Regions from separate parts of the Homo sapiens genome. Here regions 1, 2, 3, 4 and 5 are each linked to region 6. The links are contacts of gene promoters, found by promoter capture Hi-C in blood cells and fetal thymus (Javierre and others, 2016). All regions are on one chromosome and are shown on one strand. The core of a region is centred on a gene start or on the middle of the fragment in contact, and the rest is flanking DNA. Distances in the headings are between cores, read along the strand shown.

Region 1 (2,700 bases), core at 43-2,542, 110 kb before region 6:
TAATTTCTCCCATACCTGCATTTTAGTGTGTCACTCCTTTGTTTTGGTAATAAGTACACCACGAAACACTGATGTCTGAATGATCTGAGATATTTTTACCACTAACATTCAAATTCAGAGATAACCTCACGTTTAAAAATACAGTCAGTAAGAAGATTTTAAAGAAATATTTACACATATTAAAATCACTTTTAACAGACTTCATACAATGGAATATTTTGTAATAAAAGTTAACAAATTAATGCTATAGGCAACAATAGTTATGAACCTCAAGAAGGAGTTGAGAGAGTACATACTTTATAATTTCATTTAAACAACATTCAAAACAGGCCAATTGATCTATAGTGACAGAAGTCAGAAAGGAGTGTGGCTTGGAGAAGGAGGGAGAGGTAACAGAGAAGGGGTCTTTGGAATGCTGGTAACATTCTATTTTCTGTTATGGGGGTGGTCACTTTTTAAAGACAGATGCATTCACTTAGTAGAAAAAGCACTGAACTATGTACTTTTCTGAATGTATATGAAAGTTTAAAAAAAAAAAAAAAAGCCTTTACAGAATTAATGTTTTTTTCTGATAGCATTTTAAAAATCATTTAAAAATTTAAGTGTTCTAGTTAAACTAACAGTGCACAATTTCAGAAACTGTAATTGGCAAACACACAGAAGAGACACCAGCCTTAGGCACTTTCAAAAAGTGCTTCTTTTTAGTAATTTCCCGGCCATATATTCTCACAATTATCTTTTCCGTGTACTACTCTTTTTATCCATTCTTTAGTTAAAAACAATGAAACTCGTGAAACTATAATATTTTTAAATTATGCTTATAATAAAAACATGTTTAAGCATTCAGCCTTTGAACTAGTAATGCCACTAGGAATTTAAGAATCCAAAATATGAGTAAACATGCGTAAGTAGCAATTCAGCATAGTGTTATTTATCAAAATACCAAAAAAAGAAAAAAAGAAACCTAAAAGCTTAATTTCTGGAATACTTGTGGAAATCATAGAACATCTTGCTGGTAAAATATTAGTACCCATTAAAATTTATGAAGTGTTTAATTAAATGGAAAATGTATGTTAGATAATAAGAAATGGTTAAAAAAAAAAAAAAGAGAATAAACAGGCCAGGTGCAGTGGCTCACGCGAGTACTCCCAGCACTTTGGGAGGCCGAGGCGGGCACATCACCTGAGGTCAGGAGTTCAAGATCAGCCTGGCAAACATGGCGAAATCTGGTCTCTACTAAAAAAAAAAAATACGAAAATTAGCTGGGTGTGGTGGCTCACACCTATAATCCCAGCTACTTGGGAGGCTGAGGAAGGAGAATCACTTGAACCTGGGAGGTGGAGGCTGCAGTGAGCCAAGAAAGTGCCACTGCACTCCAGCCTGGGTGACAGAGTGAGACTCCGTCTCAAAAACAAAACCAAAACCAAAAAAAAAAAAAAAAAAAAAGAATAAATAACTTTTATAGACGCTGTCAATTGGACTTAAAGCAGAAAAGAAAAAAGCCTCAAAACTAACTTGAAATTATAAATGAATTTTTATTCTTCTTTGTACATCAAAATGTTTTTTAAATGAACATTTTATTTTCTGAATAAAAGTTAAAAACTGAAAACACCAAAGCTTAAGAAAAGAAAGGTCTAGGTAAAATAGAAAAGTAGGAAAAAGAAAAGTACTAGAATAAAGACTAGCACAGAAGATAGTTTATTGCTATCATGGGCAGAAAAGCAGCTTTGTGAAAGACACCTAAAGCAACACGTTAATTAAAAAAACAACTTTCAAAAGACATACTAAGGTATGAAATCATATATTACGTAACTCAAACTACAAATATGGTTTAGACATAAAACAAGTTACCAAATATTAACTAGATGAATCAAATAAAAATCAGGATATTTAATCCTACCAAAGATGACTTCTGAAATTCTTTTGATCAGGTGCTAAAATAAAAATATTAAGCAATTAAGTTGCTGACAGAAAGGAAATAGTGGGATACCTTCAAGAGAAATGCATGGGACCAAAAAAAAAAAAAATCCCTTAAGTTACTAAAATATGCAACACACCAGCAATATACATAAAGTACAACAAATACAAGAAATAGGACAGTCCTCAGAAACCAACTTGACCAATACTTAGAAACTAAAGCACTGCTAACAGTATTTTGAATAGATAAAACAAGAAAAAGAAAAGGTTCCATGACATTAAGATATGCTAACTATAAAATAATTTCTGGAGCAGCAATGGAAACTATTGTTTGTATTCTGTGTGTCAAGGAACCTGGGAAATAGTGAATAAGTAAAGAACTCTGACAACACGTACCTAGCTGAAGAGAAGGAAAGGCTACTCTTGATATTAATGATAAGAACCAAGACACACACTGCAGAGATAAGATCAGTAGGCTTTCAATGCCCTCCAATCAATTAAAAGATACAAGTGTACCAATTATATATGTATATATGTATGGAAAAATGTATTCGTATATTAAGACATAATCTCTTCCCTCAAGTGATCCCAAAGTTATTAAAGAAACCAAAGAAGTCAAACATATACATGTATATGTATATGTATACGTAGATGTAGATGTAGATGTATATGTATATGTATATGTATATGTATATGTATATGTATATGTATATGTATATGTATAGATAACAGCCAAGTCTTGTCTTTTACAAAACTAAGTTCCATGAGGCCAGGGACTAATTC
Region 2 (2,700 bases), core at 142-2,641, 65 kb after region 6:
TATTAATTGAACAAAATGCCTGTCCTCACAGAGTCGACATTCTGATGGAGGGTGCTAGGAGAAGAGAGGGAAAGACAATAAACATGTAAACAAATAAACATGGCATATCAAACGTCAGATTATGACTTCCACTTCTGGCTGTGAAAAGCCATCTTGTAGCTGATTAACCATCCCACCTAAAACACTACATCTGAAACATAAAGAAAACACTGGGGAGCAGCCAACTTAGGCAGGCGGGACTTGATGGGTTACAGTGCTCCAGACAGAAAACCCAGGGAGGAAGCTCCACGATTACCCTGGTTTTTCCCCGAGCACATTTTCCAAACTGCAGCATGCATGAAAAGACTTGAAGCTGAAAGTGGCAGTCTTAGCAAGTAAAGGGACAACAGCCAGTGTGTAGAGCTATCAAAGTATCTTGAACTTGAGGGACAAAACCTTAGAAAGTGAGGAATCACAAACAAACAACAACAACAAAAAATAACAAAAAACAAGGAATTTCATACAATTTCCCTCAAGCCATTGTTGGACTCTTTTTTTTTTTTTTTTTGAGACAGAGTCTTGCTCCCATCGCCCAGGCTGGAGTGCAGTGGCGAGATCTCGGCTCACTGCAACCTCCGCCTCCTGGGTTCAAGCAATTCTCCTGCCTCAGCCTCCCGAGTAGCTGAGACTACAGGCGCCCAACACCACGCCCGACTAATATTTGGTATTTTTAGTAGAGACGGGGTTTCACCGTGTTAGCCAGGATGGTCTCAATCTCCTGACCTCAATCTGCCCGCCTCAGCCTCCCAAAGTGCTGGGATTATAGGCGTGAGCCACCGCGCCTGGCCATTGTTGGACCCTTAAAATATTCATGCAAAGAGTAAAACTTCAAGAACCTTAGAAAGAAAAAAAGCCTAAAAAAAGAATCTTAGAAGAAAACAACAGCAGGGAGGCTGAAGAGCCAAACAGAGACATTAGCAGCTATGAAATGCTGGGGAGACAGTTGCTGGAGTTCAAGTAGAGTGGGGTTGGTAAGCACTTAAGCTTTAAATCAAGACCTCAGGGTGGCTGTGCCAGAAGAGTAAGGAAAACTTAAATAGGCCAGACTTAACAATGCCTACAACCAAGTTTCAAAGGAATCCGTTACCTAGCCTTCCTTCAACAAGAAAACTTAACCCTCTTTGAAGGAAGGTAATAATAGTTCAGAGCTTCTAAAATTTTTCATCCACAATGTTCAGCATCTAGTAAAAAATTATCAGTAATGCTAAAAAGCTGGAACAAGGGACCCCAGGCCAGACTGTAGGAAAAAAGAAGACAATAGAAGTGTGCCCAGATGGGAAATCTCAGCTGAGAAATGGAAACTCCCAAAAAGAATCAAGTGGAAACTCTACAACCAAAAAATACTCTATCTGAAATTTAAAACTTGATTGCATAGGTTTAACAGCAAATTGGAGACTGAAACTGTCAGAGTTGGTCAACTTGAAGGTAGATCAATAGAAATTATATTCTGAAGACCTACAGAAGAAATGGTTGGAAAAAATTAGGAGCCTCAGTAATACTTAGGAAGTTATCAAACAGTCTAACAAAACTCAAATAGGAGTCCTACAGGAAGAGGAGAGCAAGAAAAGGATAAAATATTTGAAAAAAGATAAAAAATTACCTAAAATTGGTGAAATAATAATTTACAAATCCCAGACAGCCAACAAACCCCAAGCAGGATAAATGCAGAGAACTATACCTAGGGACATCATAATCAGACTATTTAAAGAGAAAAACCTTATAAGCTTCTGGGAATGAGAGGATGACACATAATTTCCAGAGGAACAACAATACAATGACAGCTAACTTCTCATCAGAAACAATAGAGTCCAAAAGACAATGGACTTTTTTTTTTTTTTTTTTTTTTTTTTGTGATGGAGTCTCACTCTTGTCGTCCAGGCTGGAATGCAATGGCACAACATCGGCTCACTGCAACCTCCACCTCCCCAGTTTAAGAGCTTCTCCAGCCTCGGCCTCCCGAGTAGCTGGAATTACAGGTGGGCGCCACCAGGCCTGGCTAATTTTTGTATTTTTAGTAGAGACAGGGTTTTGCCATGTTGGCCAGGCTGGTCTCAAACTCCTGACTTCAGGTGATCCTCCCACCTCAGCCTCCCAAAGTCCTGGGGTTACAGGCGTGAGCCACCGTGCCCAGCTGACAACGGACTATCTTTAATGAGCTTAAAGAGAAAAAGTCAACCCAGAATTCTATTTCCATTAAAAATAACTTTCCAAAAGAGGGTAAAATAGTTAAACAAAAGGTGAGAAAACTTATTTATCCTCAGACCTGCATTATGAGAAACATTAACATGTATTTTAAGTAGCAGTTAGACACCTTCAGTTTTCCTTAGTTGCCCTAATTCCGTAAGCTGTCCAGGCCTATCACATGTGCTGATAAGGGCTTAAGACAACTATTTCAAGGTTCCTAATAAAATGATTGCCTCTGTTTTAATGATGTTGAGCTAGGTATAAAATAAATTGCCATTTTCCAGAATAGAAATGGGGAGGGACATTCTCTTTACATTTATTATGACAACTAGCCATATGAACACAGGTGGTTAACTTTTCTACCCCTTAAGATGTAGGTAGAGAAGCCAGTACATCCAGTATATTTAGTGCAGCTAGGCCTGCTTCTATATGGAAGTTCTTGCTCAGCGTGTGCTTACCACTAAATGACAGAAAGTG
Region 3 (2,700 bases), core at 149-2,648, 82 kb after region 6:
AAATTAGGAAGTAAAGGCACCATAATGAACATTGGGTTAATTTCCTTTCCTGTGGCAGAAGATTTGGGTTGGAATTATACAAAAATAAAGGATTGTAAATCGGATAGGAATGTATGGTGGAGAAATCTGACAACCGGGGAAGGAGATTGGGTTTTATCTTGTAGATCGAGCATTCTCACCCTCGTAGTATATATGAGGATCCTGAAGGGAGCCCGATAGGAATGCAGACTTCTGGGCTTCTCAGTGACTACATCAGAAACTCCATGAGGTTTGAAGCCCTAGAACCTGCCATATTTTAAAGTTCTTGAGATGGTCCAGCCTGTGGACCAAAGTGTGGGAGCCACTATTGCAGATGATAAAGAAATGCAGGATGTTTTTGAGGCAGAAGTTTTAATGTGAATTCCAGGAAGCTTCGTTTTGCAGAAGGGAGCGTCTAAGATGACTTACTGGAGAAAAATATACCTGAGTTCAGGAGGCTAGCTGAGAAGCTGTTTCCCAGGCCCATTCATTAATATTTCCCAACAATTATTTATTAAGTACCTTCTATATGTGAGACATTGCTTTATAATATAGTCTCGAGGCTTCCATCCTTGGTGCCCATCAGAATTATCTGAGGTTTCTTAAGAGCCCAGTACCCCAGGCTGCACTCAAGGCCAATTCTCTAGGGGTGGACCCAGACATCATGATTTGTAAAAGCTGCCAAGTGATTCCAGTGCAGAGAGACCCTCTGCTGAGAGGAAACAGATGAATAAGAATTAGCGCTTCTTCCCTTCAAAACTTGCAGTCTTGTAGGGAAAATTAAACATGTGCAGCAAAGTGAACATATTTATCTGCAACAAAATGTAATCATTAGAGGAAGATTGAGATTCTGAGTACCACTTGGAAATTTGATAGACTTCATCTCTGGGTCAAAGTACTTGTCTGGATCTAGGGGGAAAAAGGAATCAAAATAGAAGTGGGAAGAATTGTTGCCCTAACAGCCCACACTGGGGTCCAAAAAATATTCTCTGAGTGCTCTGCAGGATCTTACACCCTCAGACTCCTTACTGCTCTCCCTTCTTTGTTCCATCTTAGCAAATCCAAACCTCCACTTACTTCTACCTACACATTTACAGCTGGCCATGGCTGGAGAAAAACCTGCAACCAGTTGATGGGTCTTATTTCACATTCTTGAGCACACAGTGCAAGTGGTATTGCACTCCTGCCTGGAAAGTCATCCTATTTATTTAATTTATTTATTATTTATTTTGGAGACAGTGTCTCACTCTGTCACCCAGGCTGGAGTGCAGTGGCGCGATCTGGGCTCACTGCAACCTCCGCCTCCCAGGTTGAAGCAATTCTGCCTCAGTCTCCCGAGTAGATGGGATTACAGGCACCCGCCACCACACCTAGCTACTTTTTGTATTTTAAGTAGAAACAGGGTTTTACCATGTTGGCCGGGCTGGTCTCGAACTCCTGACCTCAACTGATCCACCCTCCTCAGCCTCCCAAAGTGCTGGGATTCCTTTTAAAACTTAGGTCCTGTTACTCCTGTCCTTGAAACCCTACAATGACTACCTAGTTAACTTGGAGCAGCAGTTCTTCCAGGGTGCACATGGCCATACTGTTCTCCACTGTCCCTATGTCCCCGGCCTCCACCACACCCAGGGGCTCCCTTGCAGGGCTTGGCATCAGCTCTTCCCTTTCCCTGGAGCATATCCACTTGGCCAGCTCTCTCACTTCCTGCCACTCCTGCTTAAATATCTCAGAGAGGTCCACCCTGACCACTGACTTAAAATTGCAACTCCTCCTACCCCCAAAGGCATTTCCATCCTCTTACCCTGGTTTACTACTCTTCATAGCACTTACGTCTTTTAACATACTACGTATTTTCTTTATTCTTATATTTATTACCTGACTCTTTACTAAATGAAAGCTCTTCAGGTAGGAATTTTCTTCTGGTTGTGATCACAAATGTATCCCCAGGGCCAGAGTAGCAAGTGGTACAGGGTTAGCCCCTGGATGAATGGATCAAAGGGGAAGTGCTTCTTCTGGCCACTTTGATGCAGCCGCCTGGGGACAGAGCAAGGAACCCTGAGCCAAGAAGAGTCCTGCTTTAGGTGGGGAGGGGGTGCCTTGCCTGAGGGAGCTGCTGACAGTAGGCTCCATTGTAAGTACAAGTGGTTCCTTTTTTGAGAACACCTAGAAACACCTGGAGGTACCTCCAGGGCTGGAGGATAGGAGTAGGTTATACCAGACTGAAAGTAAGAAGTACTCTAAGAGATAAATTGCTACAGGAGTTCAGATGATCAAAGAGAGAGTGAGTCATCACTTCTGAATGACGTCTGGATGTGGAGGCAGGTGAACAAGGTAGCCCAGAAGTAGGGGAGATGGAGGATGTTAAAAGAAAAGCTTCAGCCAGGTGCGGTGGCTCACGCCTGTAATCCCAGCATTTTGGGAGGCCAAGACGGGTGGATCACTTGAGGTCGGGAGTTCAAGACCAGCCTGACCAACATGGAGAAACCCCGTCTCTACTAAAAATACAAAAAATTAGCTGAGCGTCATGGCACATGCCTGTAATCCCAGCTACTCGGGAGGCTGAGGCAGGAGAATTGCTTGAACCTTGGAGGCGGAGGTTGCGGTGAGCTGAGATCGTGACATTGCACTCCAGCCTGGGCAACAAGAGTTGAAACTCTGTCTCAAAAAAGAAAAGAAAAGAAA
Region 4 (2,700 bases), core at 38-2,537, 100 kb after region 6:
GATCTTGGCTCACCGCAACCTCCACCTCCCGAGTTCAAGTGATTCTCCTGCCTCAGCCTCCCTAGTAGCTGGGATTACAGGCATGTGCCACCCACGCCCAGCTAATTTTGTATTTTTAGTAGAGATGGGGTTTCTCCATGTTGGTCATGTTGGTCTCGAACTCCCGACCTCAGGTGATCCACCCACCTTGGCCTCCCAAAGTGCTGGGATTACTGGCATGAGCCACCGTGCCCGGCCCATTGTATCTTTCTTATGCCTTTTTGTCCTCATAGCTTAGCTCCCACATATCAGTGAGGACACACTATGGGGTTTTCCATTCCTGAGTAATATGTAGTTAATTTTAAACCTACATTAAAAAAATGTAAGTTTTTAGTTTTCTTCAAGTTTTGTCTTTATGCAATTGAATATTTTTACCTTAAATTTTCTACTTTACCTTTATTCCTATTTTAATCACTAATATTTACTATTCTTATCACTACTATTGCTGCTAAATATTAATAATAATGCATTTCTATTGCTAGTTTTTGTCCCTCAGTTTCTTCTCTCCAGGTACAGTTGGTTCGGGTGCCTTCCTCTATACTTCTCTCTCTTTTTTTTTTTTTTTTTGAGATGGAGTCTTGCTCTGTCACCCAGGCTGGAGTGCAATGGCATGATCTCGGCTCACTGCAAGCTCCATCTCCTAGGTTCAAGCGATTCTCCCGCCTTAGCCTCCTGAGTAGCTGGGATTATAGGCACCCACCATCATGCCTGGCTAATTTTTGTATTTTTAATAGAGACAGGGTTTTACCATGTTGGCCAGGCTGGTCTTGAACTCCTGACCTCATGTGATCTGCCTGTCTCAGCCTCCCGAAGTGCTGGGATTGCAGGTGTGACCCACCGCGCCTGGCCTTTTTTTTTTTTTTTTTTTTTTGAGATTGAGTTTCACTCATGTTGCCTAGGCTGGACTGCAATGGTGCGATCTCGGCTCACTTCAGCCTTGCAACCTCTGCCTCTTGGGTTCAAGAGATTCTCCTGCCTCAGCCTCCCAAGTAGCTGGAATTAAAAGTATGTGCCACCACACCCAGCTAATTTTGTATTTTTAGTAGAGATGGGGTTTCACTATGTTGGTCAGGCTGGTCTCGAAATCTTGACCTCAGGTAATCCACCCGCCTTGGTCTCAAAGTGCTAGGATTACAGGCGTGAACCACTGCGCCAGGCCTTGATTTTTGCTTCCTTTGCAAATTTGACATAATCATCCTGTAAATCTTCATCTAAGTCATTAACTGAAATTCTGAGCAGGATGGGCTTGAGTACAGAATTCTGGCTCACTTCTCTGGCTGATTAACACTAACTGGGTGGATTTGTCCATGTGGCTTTAAGTGCACCTTAATGCATTACCATGTTAAATACCTTTTTGAAATTAAGACGTCCTAGGCTGGACATCCTCCAGATTCTACCTGTCTATCTTTTCGTTGCCCAGAAGCCATAATATGTGAACTGGCTGACTTGTTTTTGGTGGTGATTTAAGGTTGCCAAGCAGGAGTTTCAGAGCCAAATGTTGCACATGTAATTCTAGAGTTTGGACAGCTAAAAATTATCGGCAAATGTTTAACAACACATTTAACCACCAAACATGAAATGAAGTCATGGATGTTTGGGTGACAAGTGAATCAACCCATGGAACAGCTTGAAAAAAGAAAGAACCTAGTAATCCTAGTAATGTCAAGGGCAGGAGACAGAGGTGGGGACAGCTGAATTTTATTATTCCTGTGCCTCCATGAATGTCCATGCTGATATGGTCTAGGGAGACATAAAGACTTAAGTAGCTCTAGTTTAAACTGTGATATTCTGATATGACATTTTCACATTCATCTTAGTATTCCACCATGTTCATAGTCCCAACTAGTTCTGAGTCACTCAGAATTAATTCCAGATTGATGATGGCTTTACTATGTTTTCAAACATTTAATTGATGAATTATCTTCACGGTATTTCTTAAGGCATGTCAAGTATTTATCAGAGGTTTTGCTTTTAGAAAAAAATGAATCTAATGGTTAAAATTTTTTTTCCGTGAATTGTATCTTGGCACTTTATACCCTTTTTTTTTTTTTTTTTTTTTTTTTTTGTAGAGACAGGGTCTCACTATGTTGCCCAGGCCAGTCTCAAAATCCTGCCTCAAGCAGTCCTCCTGCCTTGGCCTTCCAAAATGCTCGGATTATAGGCGTAAGTCACTGCAGCTGGCCCAGCCATTTTTGTGATTTATTGGAAAAATATTGTTATGTATTTATAATAATAAGGTAAGAGGTCTGTCAGACACTGCTACAGTCACTTCTCTGTCTCTCTTTAGCACTAGCCCAATATTCTGCATTGTTTTTGCACGCACCTGCACGTTAGAATATTGCTCTCTCTGTACTTTAGCACACAGTATTACTTTAAAATTCTTTCTTCTTCTTTTTTTTTTTTTTTTTTGAGACGGAGTCTTGCTCTGTCACCCAGGCTGGAGTGCAGTGGCGCATCTCGGCTCACTGCAAGCTCTGCCTCCCGGGTTCACGCCATTCTCCTGCCTCAGCCTCCCGAGTAGCTGGGACTACAGGCGCCCGCCACCACGCCCGGCTAATTTTTTCCATTTTTTTTTTCTAGTAGAGACGGGGTTTCATGTTCTAGCCAGGGTGGTCTCCATCTCCTGACCTCGTGATCCGCCCGCCTCGGCCCCCCAAAGTG
Region 5 (2,814 bases), core at 299-2,798, 98 kb before region 6:
TGGGATCTCAAAATATTTGTGGCTTTTTTAAGAAAAATTACTACAAAGGTAAGAATCCAGTTTTGGAGTTTTGTTTTTAACATGTTAAGTGGCTTAAGTAGCAAGAAATGAATGGGAAGAGTAAACAACTGACAGCTAATCAAAAAGTTTCCAAAGAGCAAAAGCCAAAGATTTTTTTATTCTGGTCTATTCATGCCAGTCCACCTTTTATACCTTATTCCAGTTGCTGAATGTTGTCACTGCTCAAATTTAAAATAGCCATACAGTCCAAAAAAAAAAGAAAAAAATAGATGACAGCAAGAATAAATGCAAAAAATAGATAAAAATTCTAAAAAAAAAATAAGCATGAAAGCCTGTGCCAATAAAAACTCATAAAATGGAAGGGCAAGCTGAATAGCCCTCCAAGGCATCCACATTTAATTTAAAAATAATAAAGACCTTATTAGGTTTTTAGAAATTTATATCCCAAAAGATAAGTAAATACAGATTCCAAAGGCCCTAACATAGAAGAGAAAAAAAGGAAAATCCTAACGAAATACAAAACAGACACAAATTATATCAGAATTACGATTTCTAAAACAACTAACCTGTTCTTAAGAGAGGAACAGCTGATTCCAGAATGGAGACACAAAACTGGGGAAGACTGAGCTGCTGGAATTGTAGTTCCAATGTGTCTTCAGTTTCCAGCTCTGGCAGATCTATGTGTCCCATATCCAAAGGTGAATGAACGGATATCCTGGAGTTTACATGAGCATGACTACTACTTCCACTGCAAGATAAACAAATGATAAACCTTGCATACAGAAACAATCCCCAAACAGATTTACTGCATATCTGCTGCCTCGCATATTAGAAGCCTCATACAAGTCACAACTCTACTGCTTCATTCAACTCTGGTCAGATTTGTAGAAACTTTGACAAATTTACGAAATTAAATTCCATAAAGATGACTCAAGGCCAGGAGTGGTGGCTCATGCCTGTCATCCCAGCACTTTGGGAGGCCAAGGCGGGCAGATCACCTGAGGTCAGGAGTTCAAGACCAGCCTGGCCAACATGGTGAAATCCCACCTCTACTAAAAATACAAAAAAAAAAATTCGCTGGGCATGGTGGCACACACCTGTAATCCCAGCTACTGGGGAGGCTGAGGCGGGAGAATCTTCTGAGCCCAGGAGGTAGACGTTGCAGTGAGCTGAGATAGCGACACTGCACTCCAGCCTGGGCGACAGAGCAAGACTCCATCTCAAAAAAAAAAAAAGACTCTAAATTGTAAATGAAGCCAAAAATGCATCTATATTTTGCTTGTCAGGCTGATATCTCAAAACATGTCAACATTCCTATAGTAGGAATCAATATTAGCACTGATAACCCATTCATTTCCAAAAGGAAATAAGCAGATTTATAGGAAAGCTCTTCTGTAATCAACGTGTAGAGACAAAACCAATAGTTCATACCGTTTCCTAGATTTTCTGAGTTTCACCACTGTTCTGAGTAAGCCAGTGTTAGTAAATGAAGGATGTTTCTAGAAAAACCTCATGGGAAATGTATTACTTCACTTAGTACATTCGACATCATGTAGTGACTTCAAAAATGCACCCAAAAAAACGGAACATCCCATTGTCCTTGGCTTTCTTCATTAAAAAGTTCTTACCTCGGATGTAAAGTGCTGGAGTAAGGATTTAAAAAGTGTAGAAAGGCTAGAGCCTCACACTTACAAAGAGCCTCAAAATTTTGTCTTTTGATGTTATCCACAACCGAAGCTGGATCACAAGAGACATATTAATGCTATGGAACATTTAAATTTGCCCAAATTATAAACCAACTTTGTCGTTTCTTCAATTTCAAGATACCAAGCACCCCAAAATATGGAAACAACTCGGGCTTCTCTGTAACTCTGAAAGGAAGTTTCAGTGAGGAAGCTGTTCACTCAGGAGTGAAAACTTAGAAGCATGAAGCACACAAGAGAATGAGGCAGAAAGGCTTCAGGAGAAAGAGAAAAACATGGCTGAACAACCAACTACAATATAAGGACTAAGAGCATAGACTCTCCTATCATTTTATTTAACCCTAGCTCTGCTCTTTACCAACTGTTATGCTCTTAACCTCTCTAAACCTCAATGAGGATGATAATAATAATACTAATGCTATATATAATATCAATCCTATTCTAGGACAACTAAAGGAGACAAAGTATGCAAAGCACAGGGCATAACACCATACACACAGCAGGTATGAATCAGTATTAGCTTGTTAACAGTAGTAGCAGTATTGCAAGAAAATAATTAAGCCAACAGACCAATGCTTAACTTAGTGAACATTTTTTAGAATGACACTAAAGAGACTAATATGTTTCTAACACATTTGCACCCAAGGATAAGGTAACATACAAATACCACACCAATCCTTTTAAGCAGAGTTGGTGTATGAAAATCTGGGTGCCAAGCACTGGGGGCCAAGCATGGTGACTCATGTCTGTAATCTCAGCACTTTACGAGGCCAAGATGGGAAGATCACTTGAGCCCAGGAGTTCGAGACCAGCCTGGGAAACATAGTGAGACCCCATCTCTACAAAAAATAAAAGGCTTAGCCAAGTATGGTAGTGCACATCTGTGGTCCCAGCCACTCAGGAGGCTGAGGCGAAAGGATCACTTGAGCCCAGAAGTCAAGGCTATAATCGTGCCACTGCACTCCAGCCTAGGCAAGAGAGTGAGACCTTGTCTCAAAAAAAAAAAAAAAAAAAAGAAAAAAATCTGTATTTACACAAACAAATACCATAAATTGTTCACCTTGAAGGAGTCCTTATTTTATAAAATTCT
Region 6 (2,700 bases), core at 15-2,514:
TATGATACATGACATCAACTTTGCATCACCTAAAGATCCAACTTTTCTGTTATGAATCTAGATTTCTTGGGGAAATCCAGATTGTATATTGGACATAGGAATTAAGATTACTGGACTTGAACTTTTTTGTAACTAACAACTTTATTGAGATATAATTCGGGTACCAACTCATACCTGAACAGCTTTTTAGACTTTTTTTCTAGCCCTTTTTTCTCTGTCCTTTCGGTTTTCTTTTAAAAAGGTCCATACTATTCAAGAAACACAACTTTTAAAGTCCACAATAATTCTCATTAGATTTTAATATTTATCTCCCCCCAAGCTTTACTGAAATACTAATGATATTCATTTTTTTAACCACTTTTCATCGTAAGAGAAATACAAATTTTCCTATTGATTCTTATGCACAAAAATCAAGTTTTTGTGGTACTGCTATACATTAGTAGTATGTTCAGCCAGTTTCCAAAGAAATTAGTCAAGATCCCAACATGCAACTTGTATACCACACTACCTTGGAATTCGGCGGCACAAACAACTATTCCTTGTACAAAACCTCCCTGAAAACGACTAAATGGAAAAGTGGATGGCTTGAAACAAGGAATGTTTGGTTTTTTAAAAAGCATTTTTCACAATTTAGTCGAGGTGTGGGGAGGGTTTCCCCACTTGTGGCTCTGCACAGCGTGCGCGCGCGTCTGTCCTGGGGTCCCCTCCCTGCGGGGACGAGGCCGGGGTCCCCGCGCGAGCCCAGCGGACCTGGGCAGTGCGGGGGTCCGACCGCCCGCCACAGGGGGACAGGGACCGCAGCCGCCAAATCCGCGGGGCCGGGGAACGAGGAGACTTTCCTTTCCGCGTTAGCCGGGGCCACCCCCGCCAGAGGGAAAGCACCAAAGGAAAAACCAGGACAGGGACTCTGGGGGCCGGAGGAGCGGCCTCCTGCAGGCACCAGCGGAGGGGCGCGGGGGTGGGGGAAGGGATCAGGGCTCCGCGCTCCGTCCGCCCCACGACCCCGGCCCGGCGCCCCTCCCCTCGGAACCCCCACTTAGTGCCCGGCCCCCGCCCCGCCCCGCGCGGCCCCCGGCCTCAGCCCCGCGCGCCCCGACGCCCCGCCTGCGCCGCGGGCCCGAGTAGTGGACGGGGGGCGGCCCGCTCGGCTCCTCCGCACCCGCTCCCCGCTCGGGCCGAGGCGCCGCGGCCGCGCGCCCCTCCTGGAGGAGGAGGAGGAAGGAGGCGGGAGGAGGAGTTGCCGAGAGGAGAAGGCGAGCGCGGCAGTCGCGCCGGCGCTGGGCGAGGAAGCGGAGCCGGGCCGCCTCCGGGTAAGCGTCCGGGGAGCTCGGGCGGGAGGCAGGGGCAGGGCTTCGCCGTCCGCCTCCGGGTCGCCCGCGGTCCGGGACACGGCTGGTTTTCGCCTCGGAGTGCAGGGGGCGGATCCGGCGCGGGCCGGGCCAGGGAGGCCGCCGGGCGCGGGGCTGCAGCGACGGGTCTGGGTCAGCGCGAGGCCCTGCGCCGTCTCGGCGGGTGCGCGGGCGGGGGCCAGGGCCGGGGAACGGGGGCCGGGGCCAGTCCCGGGAGCGGGGACGCGGAAACCGGGAAGCCGGGGCCGGGGCGCGGCGGCCCCTGAAGGGCCGAGGCCTGCGCGGCCGCGGACGGCTCTTCTCGACCCCTCGGCCTCTTCGGCCGCGGCGCGCCGGCCTGGGCCGCCGCCTTTGTTGCCCGCAGCTCGCCGGGGAGAGGCCGGGGCTCCGCGAGGCCTGGGCAGCGGCGCGGGGCCTGCGCGGCTCTGCGCCCCGGCCGGGTCCCTCCTCGGACCTCCGCGGGCTCGGGCTCGGGCTCGGGGTCGGGGCGCGGCGAGGCCGCAGGCGCGAGGGCGGGCCTGGGGCGCGGCGCTGGGACTCGGGGACGCCCCCGCCCCACCGCGAGGTCGCGCCGGCGCTGGTGGAGGTGCAGGCCGGGGCTGCTCTGCGGCTGAAGGTGCCGCCGGCCGGCTGCGCACTCACCCGGGTGTAGGGACCGGACGATTGTGGAATTTAAACCGCTCCTGGGACCGACACGGGCCTGAATTTTCAGTTTGCTTCGGGAGTTGGCAACTTCAGGTACACCCTTGTGGCTCACGGAGCAGAATTATGGACGTTTCTCAGGGGCAGATCCTGGCACAAAACTTGGGATATGTGCAGTAGTGTGTGTGCCAACTTAACGTTCAGTTGGAATGTGAAATTGGGGTTCCCATCCCCACTGTTTGGAATGAAGGGCCAGGTGGGAATATGTGGCGGGACTCAGTCTTCCGGTAGCAAAATAAATAATGTTGAATTCATTTCAACAAATGTTTCTGCAACGTCTGCCCGGATAAGGCAGCATGCACTGTGCATGAGGACAGAGAACACAGTAATGACAGAAATAACGTGAATTACACACTGAACGTCTCCCAGAGACATTTTAAATTTACTGTGTTCCTTGGGATAAAGATACATTTGGAATCAAACAAAAGTAAACGTTCTACTTCAAGATAAAATATCTGACATCTTCTCAACCACTGAAGGTAGCAATTTATCTTGACTTGTTTTTAACCAACTACCACAACATTAAATCCATTTAGCTTACTTGAATGAACGAATCTTAATTGTAATATTTAATGCTGTGGACAGCCTTACTTAAAAACACGAATGGCATTGCTCACCAGGTTTCACAAAAACCGGAAAAAAAGTCTGT

Evidence for each region. Contacts are between HindIII fragments. The CHiCAGO score rates a contact against its expected background, and 5 or more counts as called.
Region 1: a contact is called between a fragment that was not itself captured here and the fragment with the promoter of SOCS6 in region 6, in 2 of 17 cell types (M1 macrophages and M0 macrophages). The highest score is 5.9, in M1 macrophages.
Region 2: a fragment that was not itself captured here is called in contact with the fragment with the promoter of SOCS6 in region 6 in 2 of 17 cell types (M1 macrophages and M0 macrophages); the score reaches 5.8 in M1 macrophages.
Region 3: a fragment that was not itself captured here is called in contact with the fragment with the promoter of SOCS6 in region 6 in 3 of 17 cell types (M1 macrophages, M0 macrophages and M2 macrophages); the score reaches 11.4 in M1 macrophages.
Region 4: a fragment that was not itself captured here is called in contact with the fragment with the promoter of SOCS6 in region 6 in 4 of 17 cell types (M1 macrophages, M2 macrophages, M0 macrophages and 1 more); the score reaches 8.7 in M1 macrophages.
Region 5: a contact is called between a fragment that was not itself captured here and the fragment with the promoter of SOCS6 in region 6, in 3 of 17 cell types (M1 macrophages, M2 macrophages and M0 macrophages). The highest score is 7.9, in M1 macrophages.

What each region holds. Positions count from the first base shown.
Region 1 is chr18:70,173,621-70,176,320 of GRCh38, forward strand. All of the region lies in intron 11 of RTTN (rotatin), which reads right to left. Among named protein-coding and RNA genes, the nearest start is that of RTTN, 31 kb to the right of the region's middle. The HindIII fragment of the contact is 646 bases long and covers 970-1,615 here.
Region 2 is chr18:70,352,473-70,355,172 of GRCh38, forward strand. No RefSeq gene overlaps it. Among named protein-coding and RNA genes, the nearest start is that of LIVAR, 16 kb to the left of the region's middle. The HindIII fragment of the contact is 740 bases long and covers 1,022-1,761 here.
Region 3 is chr18:70,369,234-70,371,933 of GRCh38, forward strand. No RefSeq gene overlaps it. Among named protein-coding and RNA genes, the nearest start is that of LINC01910, 14 kb to the right of the region's middle. The HindIII fragment of the contact is 1,981 bases long and covers 409-2,389 here.
Region 4 is chr18:70,388,954-70,391,653 of GRCh38, forward strand. No RefSeq gene overlaps it. Among named protein-coding and RNA genes, the nearest start is that of LINC01910, 5.7 kb to the left of the region's middle. The HindIII fragment of the contact is 4,847 bases long and covers 1-2,700 here.
Region 5 is chr18:70,189,951-70,192,764 of GRCh38, forward strand. RTTN (rotatin) reads right to left here. Exons shown (of 49, transcript NM_173630.4): 9 at 588-769. Among named protein-coding and RNA genes, the nearest start is that of RTTN, 14 kb to the right of the region's middle. The HindIII fragment of the contact is 5,665 bases long and covers 1-2,814 here.
Region 6 is chr18:70,287,781-70,290,480 of GRCh38, forward strand. It overlaps SOCS6 (suppressor of cytokine signaling 6), which reads left to right and starts at 1,265. Exons shown (of 2, transcript NM_004232.4): 1 at 1,265-1,310. RefSeq lists a silencer at 1,101-2,000. The HindIII fragment of the contact is 7,416 bases long and covers 318-2,700 here.